Regions from separate parts of the Homo sapiens genome. Here regions 1, 2 and 3 are each linked to region 4. The links are contacts of gene promoters, found by promoter capture Hi-C in human tissues and cell types (Jung and others, 2019). All regions are on one chromosome and are shown on one strand. Each heading gives the region's core, a stretch centred on a gene start or on the middle of the fragment in contact. The rest is flanking DNA. Distances are from core to core; before and after follow the strand shown. Region 1 overlaps MUC12 (mucin 12, cell surface associated). Region 2 holds the start of MUC17 (mucin 17, cell surface associated). Region 3 overlaps COL26A1 (collagen type XXVI alpha 1 chain). Region 4 holds the start of NAT16 (N-acetyltransferase 16 (putative)).

Region 1 (3,043 bases), core at 37-2,536, 200 kb after region 4:
TCCTTTCTTGCCCATTTACAGTGTTTACTGCTTCTACATTCCACATGTATTTGGATTTTTCTTTAAAAAGATTAAGGTTAGGGACAATGGCTCACACCTGTAATCCCAGCACTTTGGGAGGCTGAGGCAGGAGGTTTGCTTGAGGCCAGGAGTTCAAGACCAGCCTGGAAAACATAGCGAGACCCCCATCTGTACAAACATTTAAAAATTAGCTGGGCATGGTGGTGCACATCTGTAGTCCCAGCTACTTGAGAGGCTGAGGCAGAAGGCTCACTTGAGCCCAGGAGGTCAAGGCTGCAGTGAGCTATGATTGTGCCACTGCACTCCAGCCTGGGCAACAGAGAAAGACGCTGTCTCTAAAATAAAATAGATTATTATTTAATTAAGGCAGCTGGTTTTTCAGGCAAACCTTTCACATCGTGGCATGCTTGGGGACACACATTAGAAGGTTCTTCAAGGACAAGTCTGAAGACCATCACCAAGCTTTGAAACTGTCTCCTCCTGCCACCTCCAGGACATATTTCTGCTTGTGACAAAATCAGTCAATGAAGTCCCCAGTGGCAGCTCCCCTGAAGAGGCAGTGGCAGTGTGGGGAGCCCCCACGGGGTGTGGAGGGAGGGTCCTTGCTATGTCTCCAAGACCAACCTGTACACCGCTGTGTGACCTTGTGCAATCCAGCGAACCTCTCTGAACTTCCATTTCTCCCTCGAAAATGAGAGTAAATGATGCCTGTTCTTGCCACCCTGATCACTCTAGAATATTCTACAATGTTATGGGAGGCACTGGGATGAGCTGGGGTCCCCCAGTTCTAGGTGCACATTCTGCTCTGCCACACAAGAGCTAGATAGCCTGGGTCTATTCCTTTAACATAAGCTCATTGGCTCCTGGCTGAGTTGTAGAGGTAGAGATAGAGCTGGGGCCACCCCAACCCCTGCACACACCAATGGCGGTGGATGGACTTCTTGGCTTTCTAGTGCCAGCAGGCACTGTCACTGCTTCTTAAAAGCAAGAGCCACCAGTTGAGGCTAAAGCATGGTATCGCGCATTGAATAGGATCACCCCAAAATATATCCTCGAAGTCCTAACTCCTGGTACCTGGGAACGCGACCTTCTTTGGAAACAGGGGCTTTCCAGATGTCATTAAGTCAAGGATCTCAAGATCAGATTTAGGATGGGCCCTAAATCTGCATACTTGTCAGAGAAAAGAGAGAGAGGTGTGACGTACAGGAAAGATGCCCAAAGACGATGAGGCAGAGATCGGAGTGATGTTATCACAAGCCAAGGAACACCAGGCGTCAACAGGAGCTAGAAAAGGCTGGCCAGGCACGGTGGCTCACGCTTGTAATCCCAGCACTTTGAGAGGCCGAGGCCAGTGGATTGCTTGAGCCCAGGAGTTTGAGATCAGCCTGGGCAACATAGCAAGACCCCGTCTCTACAAGAAAAAAAAATACAAAAATTAGCCAGTCTCATAATCCAGCCTCTAAATAACGAGATAAACATTTTTTTAAAAAGGAAGAAGCTGGCCAGGCACGGTGGCTTATGCCTGTAATCCCAGCACTTCGGGAGGCCAAGGTGGGTGGATCACGAGGTCAGGAGTTCGAGACCAGCCTGACCGACATGGTGAAACCCCGTCTCTACTAAAAATACAAAACTTAGCCGGGCGTGGTGGCGCGTGCCTGTAATCCCAGCTACTCAGAAGGCTGAGGCAGGAGAATTGCTTGAACCGGGAGGCAGAGGTTGCAGTGAGGCGAGATCGCACCACTGTACTCCAGCCTGGGCAACAGAAAGACACTCCGTCTCAAAAAAAAAAAAAAGCTAGAGAAGGCAAGGAGAGATCTTCCTCTAGAGAGTTTGAAGGGAATGTGGCACTCATGATGACCTTGACTTCAAGCTTCTGGCGTCCACAACTGTAAGAGAATAAATTTATGTTGCTTGAAGCCACCAATAGTGTTTGTTAATTTATTGTGGCAGACCTAGGGAACACATACACACAGGCATCCCCAATTATAGCAAGTGGTAAAAAATGGGGACCCTGGAGCTGGAAAGCTTAGGTTCAAATCCTGACTCCTCCAACTGATGAATGGGTGGTATTGAGCAATTTCTTTTTTTTTTTTTTTTTTTTTTTTTTTTTTTTGAGATGGAGTCTTGGTCTGTCACCAAGGCTGGAGCGCAGTGTCACGATCTCGGCTCACTGCAACCTCTGCCTCCAGGGTTCAAGTGATTCTCCTGCGTCAGTCTCCTGAGTAGCTGGGATTACAGGAACCTGCCACCATGCCCAGTTAATTTTTGTACTTTTAGTAGAGATGGGGTTTCACCATGTTGGCCAGGCTGGTCTCGAACTCCCGATGTCACGTGATCTGCCTGCCTTGACCTCCCAAAGTGTTGGGATTACAGGCGTGAGACACCACGCCCCACCGAGCAAATTATTTATCATCTCTGTGCCTGTTTCCCCACGTATAAAAACCCAAAATCAGTAACACATCCTTCTTCTTAGGAATGTTGTAAAAGTTAAATGAGATAATATTATAAAAGTGTCCAGCACATAGCAAACCCTCAATGAATATTTGCATTTTTTTTTTTTTATAAAGAGTCTCGCTCTGTCGCCCAGGCTGGAGTGCAGTGGCACTATCTCAGCTCACTGCAATCTCCACTTCCTGGGTTCACGCCATTCTTCTGCCTCAGCCTCCCAAGTAGCTGGGACTACAGGCACACACCACCATGCCCGGCTAATTTTTTTATTTTTAGTAGAGACGGGATTTCACTGTGTCAGCCAGGATGGTCTCGATCTCCTGACCTTGTCATCCATCCGCCTCGACCTCCCAAAGTGCTGGGATTACAGGCATGAGCCACCACGCCTGGCCGAATATTTGCAATTTTTAATACATATATATATTTTTTTATTTTTAAGAGGTAATGTCTTGCTCTGTCACCCAGGCTGGGTTGCAGTGGTGTGATCCTAGCTCACTGCAGCCTGGAATTGCTAGATTCAGGAGATCCTCTCCCCTCAGCCTCCTGAGCAGCTGGGACTACAGAGACACACCAC
Region 2 (3,051 bases), core at 213-2,712, 160 kb after region 4:
GGGCTAGAAGAACCCAGGAAGAGGGAAGGGAGGAGCAGAGAGAAAGAAAGGAGGGGGCCAGGAGCGGTGGCTCACCCCTGTAATCCCAGCACTTTGGGAGCCCAAGGTGGGAGGACTACCTGAGATCAGGAGTTTGAGACCAGCCCGGTTAACATGGTGAAACCCTGTCCTTACTAAAAATATACAAAATCTAGCTGGGCATGGTGGCATGTGGCTGTAATCCCAGCTACTCAAGAGCCTGAGGCGGGAGAATCGCTTGAACCCGGGAGGCAGAGGTTGCAGTGGGCTGACATCACGCTACAGAACTCCAGCCTGGGTGACAGAGCGAGGCTCCGTCTCAAAAAAAAAAAAAAAAAAAAAAGGAGGAGACAGAGGTGAGGGTTGGGGAGGAAAACAAAAGATCATGTCTAAGATGCTGTTATTAGAGATACATCACCAAGGGTCTGGAAGGCACAGAAAGTGCAAGGAAAGGAGTGTTTTCATTACAACGAATGGGCTGGCAGATCTGGGTGAGATTGCCACAGGGTGACATCTCGAGGGGCAGGGACCCTGAGGTCTATGGGTCCAGTTTCTGTCTTGGTTCCCCTGCGCCCTTCTCTGGGGGCAGGTGAGGGGCAGAGGGAGCTCCCAGAGAGTCCAGCTGGAACCCACTGTCATCCCTCCTGCTCTGAGCCCCCCGGGGTCCCTGTGGCCATGAAGCCCAAAGCGGCTGAGCTGGAATGATCCTCAGAGGTCCTAATGCCTTGTCTTTTGGGGAGACTGAGGCAGGAGATGAACTGAGCGGCCCCAGGGTGCACAGCTGGTTCATGGCAGGATTAGAATCTGGGGCTCCTGAAACGCCATTTTGTGCCCATGTGGCTATGTCCCGGAAACATTCCTGGGGCACACAGCAGGGTGTGCTGGTGTGGGAGGTGACAGGGACTTGGCGGGAACATTCACTGGGTAAGGATAGACTCTAATATGGGTTGAACACCAGTCTTGTGCCAGGGATCATGCCTCGGGGGGGGAGCTCTTTTCAATCCTAGCAGCTGCCCTGAAAAGCAGGTGTTATTATTCTTACTTTCCGGAGGGGAGACTGAGGCTCGGAAGGGGAAACTAAGGCTCAGAGACCTCAACTGGAAGAGGCTCCAATGCCCTGGCTCTTCCCCCAAAGCTCGCTGGGGAGAGAAGAGAAGTCCAGGGGGTAGGCACAGGGCTGAGCTCCAGGCAGAGGGCACACCCCTATTGGTGTCCTGGAGGCAGCTCTCCCTCGGGGATGGGCAGACAGAGCAGGCTGGCCCCTGGGATGGGGGCCTCTTGGGCAGCGGGGCGTGGGGGTCACTCACCCTGTTCTGCAGCAGCTTGTGGGGGCAAGAGCGAGAGGACCAAGGTCAGCAGACACAGCGCCATGGTCCCTGGCCTTGGCATCGGAGCTCTGAGCACGTCTCACTTGCCTGTCACCCCCAGAGGAGCTGGCGAAATGAGCCTCAGAGAAGGAAACTGATAAATAAATGGGTGCCAGAGACCTTTGGTCCCTGAGACACTGGGGATCAGGGGCCAGCCTGAGCCTGAGTCAGTCTGGAAGCTTCCCTCATGACTTGGGGCGCAGGGCCTGTTTCAGGCCAAAGGGCAGAGGGAGGGGGTGCCTCTCCCTGGCCCGGCAGCCCATAGGCATGAGGGTTATCAGCTTTATCACCCCAACAGAGGGGCAGCCCAGAGGGCCTGTAGGAGCCAGGGGGGAACTGATGAGATCCCCCGACCGAGGGTGGTGGGAGATGGGCAAGAGGGACTGGGCCTGAGCTGGGAAAGGAGGAGGGTACCACCTGCATTTGACCCTAACCCCTAGCAGGGACACCCCCTTTGTCTCTTTTCTAACCCTTCTTATTGGCCGGGTATGGTGGCTCACACCTGTAATCCCAGCACTTTGGGAGGCTGACGCGGGAAGATCACTTGAGATGAGGAGTTTGAGACCAACCTGGCCAACATGATGAAACACCATCTCTACTAAAAATACAAAAATCAGCCAGACTTGGTGGCGGGCGCCTGTAATCCCAGCTACTCAGGAGGCTGAGGCAGGAGAATCGCTTGAACCTGGGAGGCGGAGGTTGCAGAGAGCCAAGATCGTGCCTCCGTACTCCAGCCTGGGCAACAGAGCAAGACTCTGTCTCGGCAAAAATAAATAAATAAAATAACCCTTCTTATTGTCCTATGAGTATGCCCTGAAGACATGGCCATGCCTGGGCAGGGAGTTCTTGGGTTTGGTCTGTGGGTTCCGAGGTAAGCACAGCTCCCATGGCCATCTGGAGTGACCCTGCCTTGTGCAAGCTCAGCAGAGCCAAGTGCTCACTCCCTGGCCAACTGGGGTTGAATCTGAGGTCCTCTCCTGTCCCCAGAACCTGACATTAGGCTTTTCTGCCACAGGGACCTCAGCAGAGGCAGGCCTAGACCTGTCCTGACTGGAGCCGGGGAGGGGGCTCCCTGCAAAGACACAGGAAGGGGCCCAGAGCATTCGTTCCATGCCCCATTCAGCAGCCAGTCCTGGGAGAAATCCCATCCCAGGAGGGCTCTGACCCCTAACCTGACCCCAACTGCAGAAGGAGGAGAAGGAAACCTCTCACTTCTCATTCTGAGCTTTCAGATTTGCTTTTATTGGTAGGGAAATTCCAGAGTGGGGAGCCACCCAGGAGGAGACAGGGGTGCCGAGGCTTCTGGGAGTCTGGAAGCTCCCGGATGGAGAGGCTTACAGCCCCCAGCCTTCCCCAGCAGGAGCACAGGCAGGGGACTGGCCAAGTCTGTCAGCTCAGAGCAGGACCGGCTTCAGGGCCTGACTTCGGTCTCCTCTTGACCCGCCCCGGAGGCTTGTGGTGGGCTCTGTGTTTGCAGCTCTCCTGAACAGAGCTAGATGAGGGTGGGAGGCCCCCGTTGGCTCACACAGTGGATGCTACCATCTCCGGCCTCTGGATGTGGAGCTGGGGGACGGGAGAGAAGAGGTGAGGCCAAGGGGCAGACCCGGGAAAGGGGGAGCCCCAGGAGGAAGAGGGAGCCCTGGCGGGGAGGAGGGAACCCCAGGGG
Region 3 (3,312 bases), core at 612-3,111, 190 kb before region 4:
TTACCATTTGCCAGGGCAACACCCGGAAGTTACCATGCCTTTCCATGGCAACAACCCAACAACCTAGAAGTTACCACCTTCATCCTAGAAATTCCTGCATAAACTGCCCCTTAATTTGCATATAGTTAAAAGTAAGTATAAATAGTGCCAAACTGCCTCTGAGCTGCTAGTCTGGGCACACTGCCTATGGGGTATCCCTGCTCTGCAAGGAGCAGGACCTCTGCTGCAGCTGTACACTGCCACATCAATTAAAGTTGCTGTCTGAAACCACCCACTCACCCTTGAATTCTTTCCTGGGTGAAGCCAAGAACCCTCCTGGCTAAGCCCCAATTTGGGGGCCTGCCTGTCTTGCATCCACTTTGCGATCCTTAATGAAAGAATGACATACGCAATGATCACCAACACCTCAAGCATCACGAGAGAAAAAGAGAGACAACCAGACGTTGTGATTTCCAATGGAAAAACACTACAGCACCCAAGATGTAATTCTGCCAAAATAGAAAACGAAGGAGGAGGAAGAACTAGATCCAACCAAGCTCTTGATCTAATTTCCCATTATCTGGAAATAAAGAGGACAGATGAACATGTTCACAGGCACCATGAGCATATAACCAACAAAATCCTGAAAAAGGAACAATCTAGAAGGCCAAGTTTCTTCAACAAATAAATTGCAACAAAAAGAAGGGAGACAGTGGAGGAGACTTGTAGACAGTGGTGTTCTGCTGAATATTTAACACCCAGCTTTCCAGAATAAAGCCACATCCTTCTGTTAGTCAGCTCAAGGTTGCCGTAACAGAATACCACAGACTGAATGGCTTAAGTAGCAGACATTTATTTCTCATAGCCCTGGAGGCTGGGAAGTCTAAGATCAAGGTGCTGGCAGATTCAGTTCCTGGTGAGGGTTCTCTTTCTGGTTTGCAGACAGCCACCTTCTTGCTGTGCTGTGTCCTCACATGGCAAAGAGAGAGAGCTCTGATTTCTCTTCTTCTTTTTTTTTTTTTTTTTCTTTTTTGAGACAGAGTCTCACTCTGTTGCCCAGGCTGGAGTGCAGTGGCATGATCTCAGCTCATTGTACCCTCCGCCTCCCGGGCTTAAGCGATTTTAGTGCCTCAGCCTCCCAAGTAGCTGGGACTACCGGTGTGCACCACCACGCCCGGCTAATTTTTGTATTTTTAGTAGACACGGGTTTTCACCATGTTGGCCAGACTGGTCTCAAACTCCTGACCTCAGGTGATCCACCCACCTGGGCCTCCCAAAGTGCTGAGATTACAGGCATGAGCCACCGCACCTGGCCTCTCTTCCTGTTCTTATAACATCCCTAATCAAATAATGGGGCACAGCCCTCACAACTTCATCTAAATCTAGTTACCTCCAAAGGTCCCCCCTCCAAATACCACCACATTGGAGGATAGGGCTTCAACATATGAATTTGGTGGGGACACACACATCAGTCCAGAGCATCTCCTGATATAATATGGTAGACTAGACCACCTATGAAGAATTTCTGTCTCTCCCAGCAAGCCCAAATAGAGACCATAAATCTAATCAAACCTTCCAACCTAACTTCCAAAATAGAAGAGATACAGGGGGCAGAGGATCCAATTAATTACACCACTGGGAAGCAATTAGTCAAAACTAGTACGTGGACATTGCAGATCAAGTTAACTACACCACTGGGAAGGAAATAGCTAAATCTAGTACGTGGACATCGCAGAGAACAACTGGTCTTCAACAAGTCAACAGCGTGGAGGAAAAAGTACTCTCTCAAAGGGGGAAGACTTTCCTACACTAAAAGGGAGAGAAAAGACAGAATAACCAATAAGCAGACTTATTTAGATCCTGATTTGAACAAACTAACAATTAAAAACTGCTTTTTGGCCAGGCACAGTGGCTCACACCTGTAATTCCAACACTTCGGGAGGCCAAAGCTGAAGGATTACTTGAAGCCAGGAGTTCAAGACCACCCTGGGCAACATAGCAGGACCCCACCTCTATGAAAAATTTAAAAGTTAGCCAGCCATGGTGGCCCATGCCTATGGTCCCAACTACTTAGGAGGCTGAGGTGGGAGGATTGCTTGAACCCAGGAGGTCGAGGCTGCAGTGAGCTATGATTGCACCATTACGCTCCTGCCTGGGTGACAGAGCAAGACCCTGTCTTTAAAAAAAAAAAAAAAAAAAAAAAAAAAAAAAAAAAAAAAAAAATCAGACGTTAACAAGGAGCAGTAACAATGAAATTAAAGCACTCTTTGTCAAGAAACAGCCCTGTCATCATTGCCTGTCAACTGAAGCCAAGCCCCGGTAAACACACTACTGAAGGCCAAGGCTGCAAGGACCACTGCTGTCCCCAAGCCTTCAGCTTCTGGACATCTTGGATCTCAAGGACAAGGGACACTTGTGATAGATAGCTCATGAGACACAGAAACATGTGACGCCCAAGCCAGCTCCAGCCTGTAACTCACCCAGGCAACAACCAGGTGCCTGCAATGCCCACGCTGGGCTTTCTGGGCAAAGAGACTCAGTCACACTCTGGAATATCAATGTGCCCCAAGCCTCCCCAACACCTTCTGGTATCCTTTTTAGGAATCCATTGCCCACAGATTCATCCACATCCTCCCTAAACCTAATTATATCCTCTCCCTGTTCTTATCCTGGTGGAAAGAGTTCTGGAAGATTCCACACTTGTTTGAGCCTCTTTTTGTTTGTGCTAAAATGATCCCTTCCAAGTTTCTGCAGATGTCCCCAAGTTCCAACCCACCAAATGCCAGAATGAGGTCCCCATTCGCTCCCGCTCTTCATGGTCCTCACCTCTTGCTTTTTTGCAGGCGTATTTCAGGCTGCAAACACCTTTTTTTTTTTCCTTCCCACACCTTTTAATTACAAAAGTATTACATGAATATACGCTCCTTGCAAAACATCCATTCAATCCCCGTACCGGCCAGTAGGTTCTCTTAGGGACCAAGCACAGTGGCTCATGCCTGTGATCCCAGCACTTCGGGAGGCTGAGGCAGGCAGATCATTTGAGGCCAGGAGTTTGAGACCAGCCTGGCCAACGTTACATTTTTTATTGGCCAACAATACAAAAATTAGCCAGGCGCAGTGGTGGGCACCTGTAATCCCAGCTACTTGGGAGGCTGAGGCAGGAGAATCACTTGAACTTGGGAGGCAGAGGTTGCAGTAAGCCAAGATTGCACCATTGCACTCCAGCCTGGGAGACAGAGCGAGACTCTGTCTCAAAAAAAACACAGAAACCAGAAAAACATTCAGACAAGCCACAAGCAGACAGAGGGAAAATGGGACAGTCCCCTGGCCCAG
Region 4 (2,894 bases), core at 371-2,870:
GATCACGAGGTCAGGAGATCGAGACCATCCTGGCTAACACGGTGAAACCCCGTCTCTACTAAAAATACAAAAAATTAGCCGGGGGTGGTGGCGGGCGTCTGTAGTCCCAGTTACTGGGGAGGCTGAGGCAGGAGAATGGCATGAACCCGGGAGGCAGAGCTTGCAGTGAGCCGAGATCGCGCCACTGCACTCCAGCCTAGGCGAGAGTGAGACTCCTCTCAAAAAAAAAAAAAAAAAATTATTCCCTGCATCTCCAAAGCAGTTTACAGTTGCTAAAGGGCTTTGTCCATCACTTTCCTGGCTCCTTACAGGGTAGAACTGAAGGTGTTCTGATCTCACTTTATTTATTATTTTATTTTATTTTGAGTTGGATTCTCGCTCTGCCGCGCAGGCTGGAGTGCAGTGGCACGATCTCGGCGCATTGCAATCTCTGCCTCCCGGGTTCAAGCGATTCTCCTGCCTCAGCCTCCCAAGTAGCTGAGATTACAGGTGCAGGCCACTGTGCCCGGCTGATTTTTGTATTTTTAGTAGAAACGGGGTTTCGCCATGTTGGCCATGCTGGTCTTGAACTCCTGACCTCAGGTGATCCTCCCACCTCGGCCTCCCAGAGTGCTGGGATTACAGGCATGAGCCACCGTGCCCGGCCAGGCCAGGCTAATTGTTGTATTTTTAGTAGAGACGGGGTTTCACCATGTTGGCCAGGCTGGTCTCGAACTCCTGACCTCAAGTGATTCCCCCGCCTCGGCCTCCCAAAGTGCTGGGATCACAGGCTTGAGCCACCGCACCCAGTCTTGAGCTCACTTTATAGGTGGGATGGAGAACCTTGTAGGAGTTAAGAGCCTGGGCCACCGCCTTATTAGAGCAGGGGCAGCGCTGCACCCACCCGGGTCCCAGCTCCACACTTCCCTCTTCCTCCCCAGCCACCAGGATCAGCGTGGGGTGCAGCGCCTCCTGAGTGCAGAGGTCTGTGTGAATGTGCCTGGGTGTGCGCTGTGTACCTGGAGGTCTTTCTGCCTGCTGTCCCGTGGGGTACATTGTGGATTTAGGGGCCTTGTGCACCCGGGGAACCAGGGTGCTCAGGCACCCACGCAGTGGTGAGAAGATGGAGAGATCTTGGCCTCCCTCTGCCCTTTTCAGCCTTTCAACTTCTGTCTCTTGATGTCTCTTCGCCTTCCCGGTGTTCTAGGGTTTCTGATTCCCTCTATCAGTTTCCGGGGACGAAGGCTCGGAGTCCCCTTCCCAGCCGCTCTTATAATGGAGAGAGGAGATTCCATTGAGGGGTGGCTCCTGGAGGAGGGGTACTTCAGGGCAGTGGGGGACCCCCGGACAGAGAACGGAGGTGCTGGGCGTGGGGTGGGGAGATAACTAAGCCAGCAACACCAGCATCACCACCACCAAAACCCGAGACACCACCATCCTCAGTCCCACTCCCCAGCCGGGACACAGGGCGGAGTCTCGCCAGTAGGGCTTGAGGCCACCCAGCTGCCCAGGGCGCACCCCGACCCCCGGCCCCGCCAGCAGGGCACGAGTCCGCTCCGGATCCGTCCCGGGTTTCTTCCGCGTCGCCGGGGTCTCCGCCCCTCGAAGCTGCCGCCGGAGCGTCGCCGGGGGAGCCACGCGTGCCACCCGAACCCCTGAACCGATGGGCGCCCCGGCCCGCGTCGCCAACGGAGCTGCGGCGCTGCCCCAGCGCTGACCGACGTTAGAGTCGGGCTCCGACAGCGCGGCCGAGTCCCCGCGCGTCATCCTCCTTTGACTCTTGGGGGCTCCAAAGGGACCTCTCTCTTGGCACCGGGGGTGTCTGCGCCCGCCGCCCGCCCCGCTTGGCTTTGCGGCATCTCGGCCCTGGCTCCAGCTCCGGCTCCGGCGAGGTAGGGGGGCGGCCGGGCCTGGGGACTGGGGAGGGGGCTAGCGTGCTCCTCCACCGCAGAATGGGGCAGCAGAAGGCCACCGCCCCTCAGGGGGACCAAGCGGCTGCGCCCCCTTCTGCCCAGCCCCTCCCAGTCCGAAGACCCAGAAAACTGAGTCAGAGGCTGCGCTTCAGGTGTCCAGAAGCGCTCCCCCGCCCCCCTCTGTTGCCATGTCGCTCCCACCTGTCCCCAGGGTCCGGCGCCCAGGGGAACCCCCGCCAAGCAGATCGCTCCCTTTGCAATCTCCCTCTCCCCCAAGCCCAAGCCCCCAATCCGGGGTAGAGGCAGAGGGAAGACCCTCACTCGGGAAGACCCTGCAGGACAGCCCCCCCTTCTCCACTACTGTGGCCCTCTGGGGCCCTCCCCCCACCCCCTTTGGCTGGGCCATCTTCCTCGGCCCCTGCCTCTGCCCACCCCCTAGGCCTTCTCTCCCGCCCCCACTTCATCGCCTCTCCCCGTCTCTGTTTCCAAGGTTGTTCTCTTACGGCCTTTTTTCTGACTTTCTTTTCCCCTTGACCCCTTCCCCTCCACGGATCCCCGCCCCCCATACCCCGGGGCGAAGGGGGTGTGTCACGCTGCTTTCTATTTACAGTGTCCCAGGGGAGGGGGTGCGTGCTAGGATTTTTTTTTTTTCATCTGCTGGGCCCAGAGTCACGAGGTGTCATGTCTGTGATTCGGTGTCGAAGCCTCCTCCGGCTTCCCTGCCTGTCCCCTGCGGCCGCATCTCCTGTCCGCTTTTGTCTGCTCTCTGCCTCCATTCCCGTCCTTTTCGCTCTCATCTTTGGGCGCTTTGTGCAGCTGCCTTCTTTGTCTCCGCCTCTCCGGCGACTGGGCTCTCCCTTCCCTCCCTCTCCTCCCTCCCCCAGTGTCAAGAAGCCATCGGCCTCAAGGGCATCGATATTTCAGGTGTGTGGGGTGTGGTGGGAGTGGGGTGCGGGTGGGTGGGCTGCCGGCATTCCCAGCTCTGACTCCGATCATGCCCAG

Evidence for each region. The method cuts DNA at HindIII sites, captures the fragments that hold promoters and counts their contacts. A contact is called where the count stands out against the background at its distance.
Region 1: a fragment that was not itself captured here is called in contact with the fragment with the promoter of NAT16 in region 4 in 2 of the 25 tissues and cell types used here (mesenchymal stem cells and pancreas).
Region 2: a contact is called between the fragment with the promoter of MUC17 here and the fragment with the promoter of NAT16 in region 4, in 1 of the 25 tissues and cell types used here (aorta).
Region 3: a fragment that was not itself captured here is called in contact with the fragment with the promoter of NAT16 in region 4 in 3 of the 25 tissues and cell types used here (bladder, liver and lymphoblastoid cells).

What each region holds. Positions count from the first base shown.
Region 1 is chr7:100,976,142-100,979,184 of GRCh38, reverse strand. The region is part of intron 1 of MUC12 (mucin 12, cell surface associated); the gene reads right to left. Among named protein-coding and RNA genes, the nearest start is that of MUC12, 8.1 kb to the right of the region's middle. The HindIII fragment of the contact is 4,503 bases long and covers 1-3,043 here.
Region 2 is chr7:101,018,492-101,021,542 of GRCh38, reverse strand. It overlaps MUC17 (mucin 17, cell surface associated), which reads right to left and starts at 1,462. Exons shown (of 13, transcript NM_001040105.2): 1 at 1,326-1,462. The coding sequence starts at 1,407. MUC12 (mucin 12, cell surface associated) reads right to left here. Exons shown (of 12, transcript NM_001164462.2): 12 at 2,607-2,948. The coding sequence ends at 2,907. RefSeq lists an enhancer at 2,562-2,711 and a silencer at 2,761-3,051. The HindIII fragment of the contact is 20,706 bases long and covers 1-3,051 here.
Region 3 is chr7:101,365,365-101,368,676 of GRCh38, reverse strand. All of the region lies in intron 1 of COL26A1 (collagen type XXVI alpha 1 chain), which reads right to left. Among named protein-coding and RNA genes, the nearest start is that of COL26A1, 4.1 kb to the right of the region's middle. The HindIII fragment of the contact is 6,055 bases long and covers 1-3,312 here.
Region 4 is chr7:101,179,019-101,181,912 of GRCh38, reverse strand. It overlaps NAT16 (N-acetyltransferase 16 (putative)), which reads left to right and starts at 1,620. Exons shown (of 4, transcript NM_198571.3): 1 at 1,620-1,871. RefSeq lists a silencer at 1,451-1,745 and an enhancer at 1,117-1,839. The HindIII fragment of the contact is 15,471 bases long and covers 1-2,894 here.